3 separate regions of the Homo sapiens genome follow, and all the other regions are linked to region 3. Evidence: promoter capture Hi-C in 16 types of primary human blood cells and fetal thymus (Javierre and others, 2016). All regions are on one chromosome and are shown on one strand. Each heading gives the region's core, a stretch centred on a gene start or on the middle of the fragment in contact. The rest is flanking DNA. Distances are from core to core; before and after follow the strand shown.

Region 1 (2,700 bases), core at 189-2,688, 89 kb after region 3:
GCTGGGAGAAAGCTGTGTCTCTTGAGGTGTTCTTTCTTTTCTTTTCTTTTCTTTTCTTCTTTTTTTTTTTTTGAGACGGAGTCCTGCTCTGTCACCCAGGCTGGAGTGCAGTGGCGCGATCTCGGCTCACTGCAAGCTCCGCCTCCTGGGTTCACACCATTCTCCTGCCTCATCAGCCTCCTGAGTAGCTGGGACTACAGGCGCCTGCCACCACACCCGGCTAATTTTTTGTATTTTTACTAGAGATGGGGTTTCACCATGTTAGCCAGGATGGTCTTGGTCTCCTGACCTCGTGATCCTCCCACCTCGGCCTCCCAAAGTTCTGGGATTACAGGCGTGAGCCACTGCTCCTGGCCTTGAGGTGTTCTTTCTTTGGCCAGTCTACATCTTGGGTGTGCTTTGCTTTGGGCCTGTGAATGGAAGGGGCATTTCTTTGTTAGATAAGGAACTTTTCAGTAAAAAACAGCAGAGACCTGTCTAGTGGATGATTAAGCCTAAGCTTATGCTAAAGGGCAGGGGCTGAAATGATTTCATAACATTTTTCATCCTCACCATCTGGACCTAGACCTAATGTTGTGCAGCCTAGTACAGGAATTGTTAAGGCTTTGCTCACGTCCCACCCCCTCCCTAGTCTCCAAAGGACCTCAGCCCTCATTGATTTTCCCTCTTCTAGGACAGTTTTCAGCATTTAAGTTTAGTAATACTCAGTGTAGGGCTTGATTCTGCAATCTCCCTTGGTATAACCCGCCATGCTGCTGCTAGTCTCAGGCTCCCTCCGCTGTCTTTTGCTGCCCTTCTGCCCAGACTCAGTGAGCGCTAAAGTCAGGAAGGGCCCAAGGGATCATGTAGTTTAACCCACTCATTTTATCAGTGGGGGAAAGAGAAGGCCAGCTCTAGGCTCTCTCTCACGGTGGAGGGAAAAGTGACACACACCTTGTTAAAAGAATCCCAAGCCGAATTGAACAGATTGGGAGCTTTGGTGTTTGTTTTGGTGGACTCTTTCTTGTATGCCTGCAGTTTCTCCACTTAGATCTGACATCCTTTTACCTAATTAAATTCCCTTCCCAGTCCTCTGCCGTCTTGCTTATGTTTTAGGTTGGTTCTGATTTTTAGTATCAACCACAGAATCTCAAAACTAGAAGGATCTTTTGATGTCCTGAACTGCGATCCCTTGGGTTGGGGCCAGTGCTTCAATTACAATACCCCAGGAGTTCTTGTTATCAGTGTATCTTAGGAGGAACCAAAAAGAGTCCTCCCACAATAAGAAGAATTGTTTTTATCTGTTCTTAAAACGCTAATTTCCTTGAGTTTCTTAAAGCAAAGCCCACCTGTACGAATGTCCGTAGGTGAAAATATTGGCCCATTTAAGTTACACTTCTGCAACACAAGAGGGGTAAAATTCCAGCCCACCTGAGGAAATTCAAACACGTGGTTTAAGAGCTTATAAATGAAGGCAGAAGATTTTAGTTCAAAGAAAGAAATGGTTATGGCTAGTAAAGCCAAAATGGGATCTTAATTCAGGATTAATTGATTAAATACTTAACTAATTAATCTTCTAACTGGCTTCTGTTGCAATCAGGGTTCAGTTTTTAGACATGACCCCTGCATGTGAAAGTGAATATCTGCAGCTCGAATGTGTGCAGTGGGACAGGCATGGCCCCGAAACCAGACAGGGCAATTCAGATCTGAGGCTAAATGAAAGAGGTAGGTGACAGCAGGTTTCAGCTTCCCAAATTTCTTTTCATCCATTTCTTTTATATCATAAATTTGAGAAAAAATTGATCTGTTCATTTAGTAAGCCCATTTAGAAATAAGCTCAAATTATTACTTCCATGCCAGAAACTTGAGGCTGGGGTTACTATTATTTTTGAGCTTGGAAATTGCCATTCATTCTGCTGCAAATGAATTAGACTATATATATATTTTAAACCCATTAAAATCAACATATATTAAAAATATTCCTAACTCCTGTCTTTATTCTTGTTCTTATGTCTCACACAATGGTCCTACTTGAATGCCTTAGAGACAATGGAGTCTCTGGCATCTCTCAGGTCTCTCCTTGACATCAAGAGCAGAGCAAACATGCTGAAGGACGTGGACCCCATGTGAACCATAGCCTTCCTCCCTGTGGCTTTGGCCTGGTACAGTCCAAAATGCCAGCCGCTCAAAAACCCACCCACTCACACGGGCCTTGTTTTCAGCAAATCTTCAAGTCTGGATGGAGGAAACGCTTTACCCTTAATACGTTCTTAAGCCATGCATAACTCTAAGCCTGTTTTAACCATGTGCTTCTAATTAATTTTTACTTAATTCTTCAGTGTTTCCTTTATTTTTGTTTTTTATAAGAAGCAGCCACATGATGAGTAAGCCTGGAGAATAAGCTTTCTGAAGAGGTTTTCTTGACAATAAAAACAATATGTTTATTGAAAGGTCAAACTAATGGCCAAGGCCAATGGAGTCTCCAGGTTGGGTTGTAAGGTGTGAACTGTAGGTAGAGTGCTGAGGAGATGCTTCATTTGGACTCCCCGGTGCCTTGAAGCTGTAGAGTAACCATCTCCGTTTGGCCTCGTTCTCAAATTCTACTACCTCCCTGCAGGGCTGTTGTGCTGTGTGTAGCAATACCTTTTGTGGTTTGCTTCCAAAGTTCTTCATTCAATACCTCATCTTTGCCTCTGCAGTGGTGTCATTCTTTTTCACTTC
Region 2 (2,700 bases), core at 90-2,589, 110 kb after region 3:
CAAGTCGGGATTTCCCATCGGTTTCCCCTGGATCCGATGATCCTATGGGTTTGGGAATCTGCACATTGAATAGAGACCCTGAGTGAATCTTATCTGCTGGTGGATGTGGGAAAATCTACACTTGGCCATTTGGAAGTGAGGTGTCCCCCCAAGCTGGGAGGAGCGTGGCTGTAGCTGGCAGCCCTGCTGGGGGCGCTGAGCTTCTCAACAGGAGCTGGTGATAGCTGGAGCTGAGTGCAGGCTCGGAAGCTTGACCAAAACGGGATTCCAGGCACAGGAACTCAATGATCACACCTAGATAGTTTTGGGGGTGGATTTGGAGAACAAATAGCCTAGTAGGATAAAATGTGATGAGGGAGAGGGAGAGACAGAGACAGAGAGAGAGAGAGACACAAAGTCAGAGACATCTGAGCTGAATAGCAGCTGAGAGGCCCCTGACCAGTCATCACCTCTGGGCAATGCTGGCCACAGAATGGGACTGAGCCTGCAGGTGCGTCTGGGGAGGGGAAGTTCAGTTGTAGGCAATGGAGCCAGGCAGGTCTTTTCCAGATGGTTTCCTAAACAGGTGTTTCATGGGAACCTGATGAGAGGGAGGGGTGACAAGACTCATGCTATGGAAAGCCCTTCAACCAGGGGTATCCCATTTTCTCTTTATAATATATTTGGGTTCCATATAAGATTTCATCTGGAGAGGGGAAAGATATTGAAAACGACAAGGCTTACCGTATCAACAGAAGAGACCTGACAACTTGGCTCAGGGTTCGCGATACAGGTATTAACCATCCCATGGATTTTTGCATCTAAAGAAAGTGTCTGGGTAGTGGGATGTATGACCTCAAGGGATGAAGTTCTCAGCAAGGAATTGCAGGCCTGGAGATCCTGTGCAGGGGAGTGATATGTAACCAGCGGCCCATCCAGAGCATTGCGATCCTGCCAGCCACAGAGGCTTCTCACTGCTCTCCCTTTGTCTTAGCTGTCTCTCATGTTAGGTTTTCAATGAAAGCTTGGAGTACCCTGTGTGTGCCTAGAAACCCTGAAGGTCAGGATCGTTCAATAATATTCTCCCCCATTTCAGGCCTCACCGTGTTCTGACTCTGAGAGGGACAGGATTTCTTCCTGGTCAAGCCGAAACTTTTCCTGCCAAAGTGTCTCCTACTGAAGTCTGTGGCTACTTGGGATTCTCAGGGCATGGGTTGTTCTGGGTGACTGCAATTTCCAAATAGCTAAAGGCGTATTCCTTAAACTACACTTACCTTTTATTATTACTATTTTGGATGGAAGTCATCACCCCTATTTCAGCTTTCATAAAATGGTTATAATGAACATAATTTAACTCATCCTTGGTGACTCTGGGCTTTTCTTAGGAGCATCGGTAATGTTGCTATGCAGTGGCACGTTGATGTTCACAGAGCCATTCTGGATACATCAAGGTGTTTGTCCCTTCATTAGAGAATCCTGACTCCAGTGTTTTTACGTGCAGTGTCTACTTACTTCAGTTTTTCTGTGTCTTCTCTATCAGCACTCACTTCTCATTGCAATCAGGGGGCCTGCTTCTACACAGCCTCTCTCATCCTTTCTACCTACCCCTCCATTGCCTCTAATTTACTTGATTCTGATCAGCTGTTGGTTTAGAAACCAGATAAGTGATCTTGTTTCAACAGTGCATGAAATGAAACAAGCTTTTCATGAGGACCAGAGGGACACTCCGTCTGAAAGGGATGTATGTGGACATTATAACATCAAATCTAATTCTCTATTCAGATGCCTTTATTACTTACTTTCTGTCTAAAGTAGGCAAAGTAGTGCTATTCTCGGGATTTTTAGGTCTGAAGAAATATATGAAGATACATTTCCTGATTCTTTAGCTTCATATGTTTAAGGATAGGTCAATCAGAGAAGGGCATTGACTTACACCATTGGTCCTCAACTCTGGCTGAATATTCAAATAATATTCAAATACCAGAACCTAGTCCTACCCCAGACCAATTAAATCAGAATCTTTGGAGATGTGTCCCATGCATTTTAATAACTCTCCTTGGGATTCTAATGTGCAAGCAAGGTGGAGAACCACCCACTTAGACCCTCGCAAAACCACCGCACTGAAGACTTGTGTCTTTTAAGACAGATGACAGGTTCTTGGTGGGGGAAGGTGGCTCATGCCTATAATCCCAGCACTTTGGGACGCTGAAGCAGGAGGATTGCTTGAGGACAGGAGTTCAAGACCAGCCTGGACAACATAGCAAGATCCCATGTCTACAAAAGAAAAGGTGCCTCTGGATTTTGTATAATAATGTGATAACTCAGAAATTTGTGTACAGAGACCATAAGATTGACCATATTATTTAATACATTTATTAAAATACTGTTCACAGTTCATGCATTTATTGCATGTCTTCTTTCACTGTGCTAATGTGTATGTTTGACAAAAGCCTAGGACCATAGTGAGACCTTGGCTCTACAAAAATTTTTTAAATCATATGGGCATGTAACTCATCACTGTAACTCCAGTGGAGCATAGCTCCTGCCTGTGGTCCTAGCTACTCAGGAAGCTGAGGCAGGAGGATTGTTTGAGCCTAGTAGTTCAAAGCTGCAGTGAGCTAATGATCATGCCACTGCACTCCAGCCTGGGCAACAGAGTGAGACTGTCTCTCTGGTTGGGGGAAAGGGGGGAAAGACAGGGATTCTCAACCCTCAGCCCTG
Region 3 (2,700 bases), core at 106-2,605:
AAGACTGATTTCAGGTTTTGTGCACGCTCCTTCCACTTCTGAGCCCCTCCAAGCCTGGGGCCCAGCCAGGATTCCTCACTTCCTCTTGGCTGAGTATAAACTCATTTACACTGAGGTAGATGGCCGTAATGAGATATATAAGACTGGTGCTTTAGAAGAGTGCTGTGGAGGAGGCCTTCCTTTATCTGGAGGGTGACATGGCAATGTCTGGAATTTTCAGATATCAGTGACAGGAAAAGATGGACTTTTGGGTCAAGAGGACTCTGTCAAACCAGGTACTAACTGGAGACCAGGCTATTTCTGAGATCATACTCTGTGTCAAGGGCTAGGGATCTTTACATGAGCCTTCAATTGTAAGTCAGGGCCCAACTCACTGTGGTCAGTGCATATATTTCTAGATTACCTCACTTTGGAAATGCTTGTCTCCCCACTCTGTGAGGGATTAGTGCTTCTCCACTTTAAAGGAAAAACAGGTCATAAATTACTGAGGAATTTTATGGCACAGCCCAAAGCACAGATTGGAGGCCAAGGAAAAATAAAACTCCAGCTTCTTTATGAAAGTCAAATGGAAAAGAGAAGATGCTTCCTGAAAAGAGGTGGGCACTGCTTGAGGGAGAGGAGGGAAAGGACTCTGAGTGAGTCTACAGGAACTCCTTTTGGTGTCCTTGAGGAGTTTATGAGAATTCTCGGCCTCATCTTGATAAACTTGAAGGCAAAGTGAAGCAGGCAGTTGAACTGTTTGTCTGGGAAATGGATGAGAGACATGATTATTTTTGGTAGCAAGATTTTCTGTGTTTGGATTATGCATGTTATAAATCCAGTATCTTAATTTCCATTTGCCTTGGGTGATCCATATGCCTAATTTTAATTCAATGCTGATTAAATGTCAGAGAAGGAAAGGAAGGGATGAGGTGAGAGTTTCCAAGCCTGGCTGACCAGGAAGACAGCAGGCAGATCTTGGAGACTGGACCTCATCAATTATAAAGAGAAAAATCCCCTGTAAGTTACAAAACAAAATAGCACAAGAAAACACTCTGTAGATGTACATTAAGCCGTCTCCTTTCCAGAAAACGTTTCCCCAGACCAGGAAGACCCAGCGTGCCCCTTAGCACCTTAGCCCAGGCCTTCAGCTCTTCTCAGCTCACCTTTTTCTCCAGTGAATAAACATGATGCTGTTTTTAAGTCTTTGCTTCCTTGTTTCTAGCCCATGTTTTACTCCAGAGCAGTGAGGGCACTTGTGACCAGCTTTGGGGAGATGAATACACTGTCATTTATACATAAATGCACTGTCATTTATCATTTCAGAATTGGAGTGAATTCTAAATGAATCATAACAGTTGCATTTAATGAATTATTCTCCTGGGTATTGGCTAATTTTAAACCGGTCTGACGAGTTTTAAGGTCCATGTGGTTTGAGGAAATTCAGTGGTGCATTTCCCGGTTTGGTCCTCCTCATTTCCCTCCAGCCCTGCTCCTTTTCAACATGCCAGGCTGCTTGGCTGGGTTATCTTTAATCACTGTAGGTGGGAGGAGGGGAGGCGGGGAGGTACTGGGCCCAAGGTCATGCCAGAAGAGTTCAGGCCTCTGCTTGTCATCTGGCACTGCTCAGAATTCCCAGGGGTCTCCGGGGAGCTGGCCCTCAGCTCACAGATGGGCCTGACTTTGGTGAGAGGTGGCCTTCCACCAGGAAGCCTCCAGCTGGCAGGATAGGTGGGTGGGGAGGGGTGAACTTTGGCTGTGGAAGCGTCTCAGCATTTTACTCCCCTTTTTCAATAGTTGCTGCCTCCACTCCACGCTTTTATTCAAGCAGCACCGGTACCTGGCAGTAGCTCCTACAATGTTTTCTACATTGGCTCTAAAATCATGGCCTAGTAGACACCAATGCTTGACTTGTTTTTTTGTTTGTTTGTTTTGAGAAGTTGTTTACCATTGGCGTGACGGGATTTTCTTGGCCTTGTGAAGTACAGGGAGCCTCAGGATAGCTTCACTGGGGGTGTCATTACATGGTCATTATCAGTGGTAAGTTTCCCAGTCTCAAGATGGAACCCTCTGTTGCTTCTCTGCCGCGTGTTTGGCTCTGTTGACCTTCCATTGCTCACCTGTGCTTGTTCCCCCAGCAGCCTGTTTCTTGTAACTATTTGCCTCATAATGCAAGTATTCTAGTGATTGAAGTGTTGCTGTGCAAAAGAGATCTTTTAAACTGAAACCAGTGCAACAAAACAATTTAAAACATTTTAATAATTTCTTAAAGGATACAGAGCCTTTTCCTCTCTTAATACATGCAGGTCAGAATGACGTCAATAAGGATTATATTTTTGCATTAACAGGAAAACTAAGTTTATAAGACTAGAGTATGGATAGAGAGGAAGATGGTTCTATTGGGATATAAACTCTGATCCATACATGGAAGTAGCCCAGTCCGTACAAACACCATTGCCTGTTTCATTCTTGACTGGACATACATATTGCCCCATTGTGATGAAAGGTTGTGATAATGAAGAGAGTAATAGAAGGCTCAGCTCAGGTTCTAAGGAGGGAGCGAGTAAAGGCCATGCAGGCCCATCCTTCTGTGGTCAGTCACTGCTGGTTGGGGAAGGAAGGAGGTATCAAGTGTCTCCATTCTTTCCTCTTTTCTTCATAGTTTCTAGATCATTCATTTAATAAATCATTAGGGAGCCCCTGCCATCAAGCTAGGTCTTG

Evidence for each region. The method cuts DNA at HindIII sites, captures the fragments that hold promoters and counts their contacts. A CHiCAGO score of 5 or more calls a contact.
Region 1: a fragment that was not itself captured here is called in contact with the fragment with the promoter of PRKCE-AS1 in region 3 in 2 of 17 cell types (total B cells and naive B cells); the score reaches 6.1 in total B cells.
Region 2: a fragment that was not itself captured here is called in contact with the fragment with the promoter of PRKCE-AS1 in region 3 in 2 of 17 cell types (naive B cells and total B cells); the score reaches 5.5 in naive B cells.

Annotation. Positions count from the first base shown.
Region 1 is chr2:45,762,898-45,765,597 of GRCh38, forward strand. The region is part of intron 1 of PRKCE (protein kinase C epsilon); the gene reads left to right. Among named protein-coding and RNA genes, the nearest start is that of PRKCE-AS1, 89 kb to the left of the region's middle. The HindIII fragment of the contact is 1,882 bases long and covers 498-2,379 here.
Region 2 is chr2:45,786,980-45,789,679 of GRCh38, forward strand. The region is part of intron 1 of PRKCE (protein kinase C epsilon); the gene reads left to right. Among named protein-coding and RNA genes, the nearest start is that of PRKCE-AS1, 110 kb to the left of the region's middle. RefSeq lists an enhancer at 1-571. The HindIII fragment of the contact is 676 bases long and covers 1,002-1,677 here.
Region 3 is chr2:45,674,165-45,676,864 of GRCh38, forward strand. It overlaps PRKCE-AS1 (PRKCE antisense RNA 1), which reads right to left and starts at 1,356. Exons shown (of 2, transcript XR_940049.3): 1 at 1,146-1,356; 2 at 1-743. The region is part of intron 1 of PRKCE (protein kinase C epsilon); the gene reads left to right. The HindIII fragment of the contact is 8,353 bases long and covers 1-2,700 here.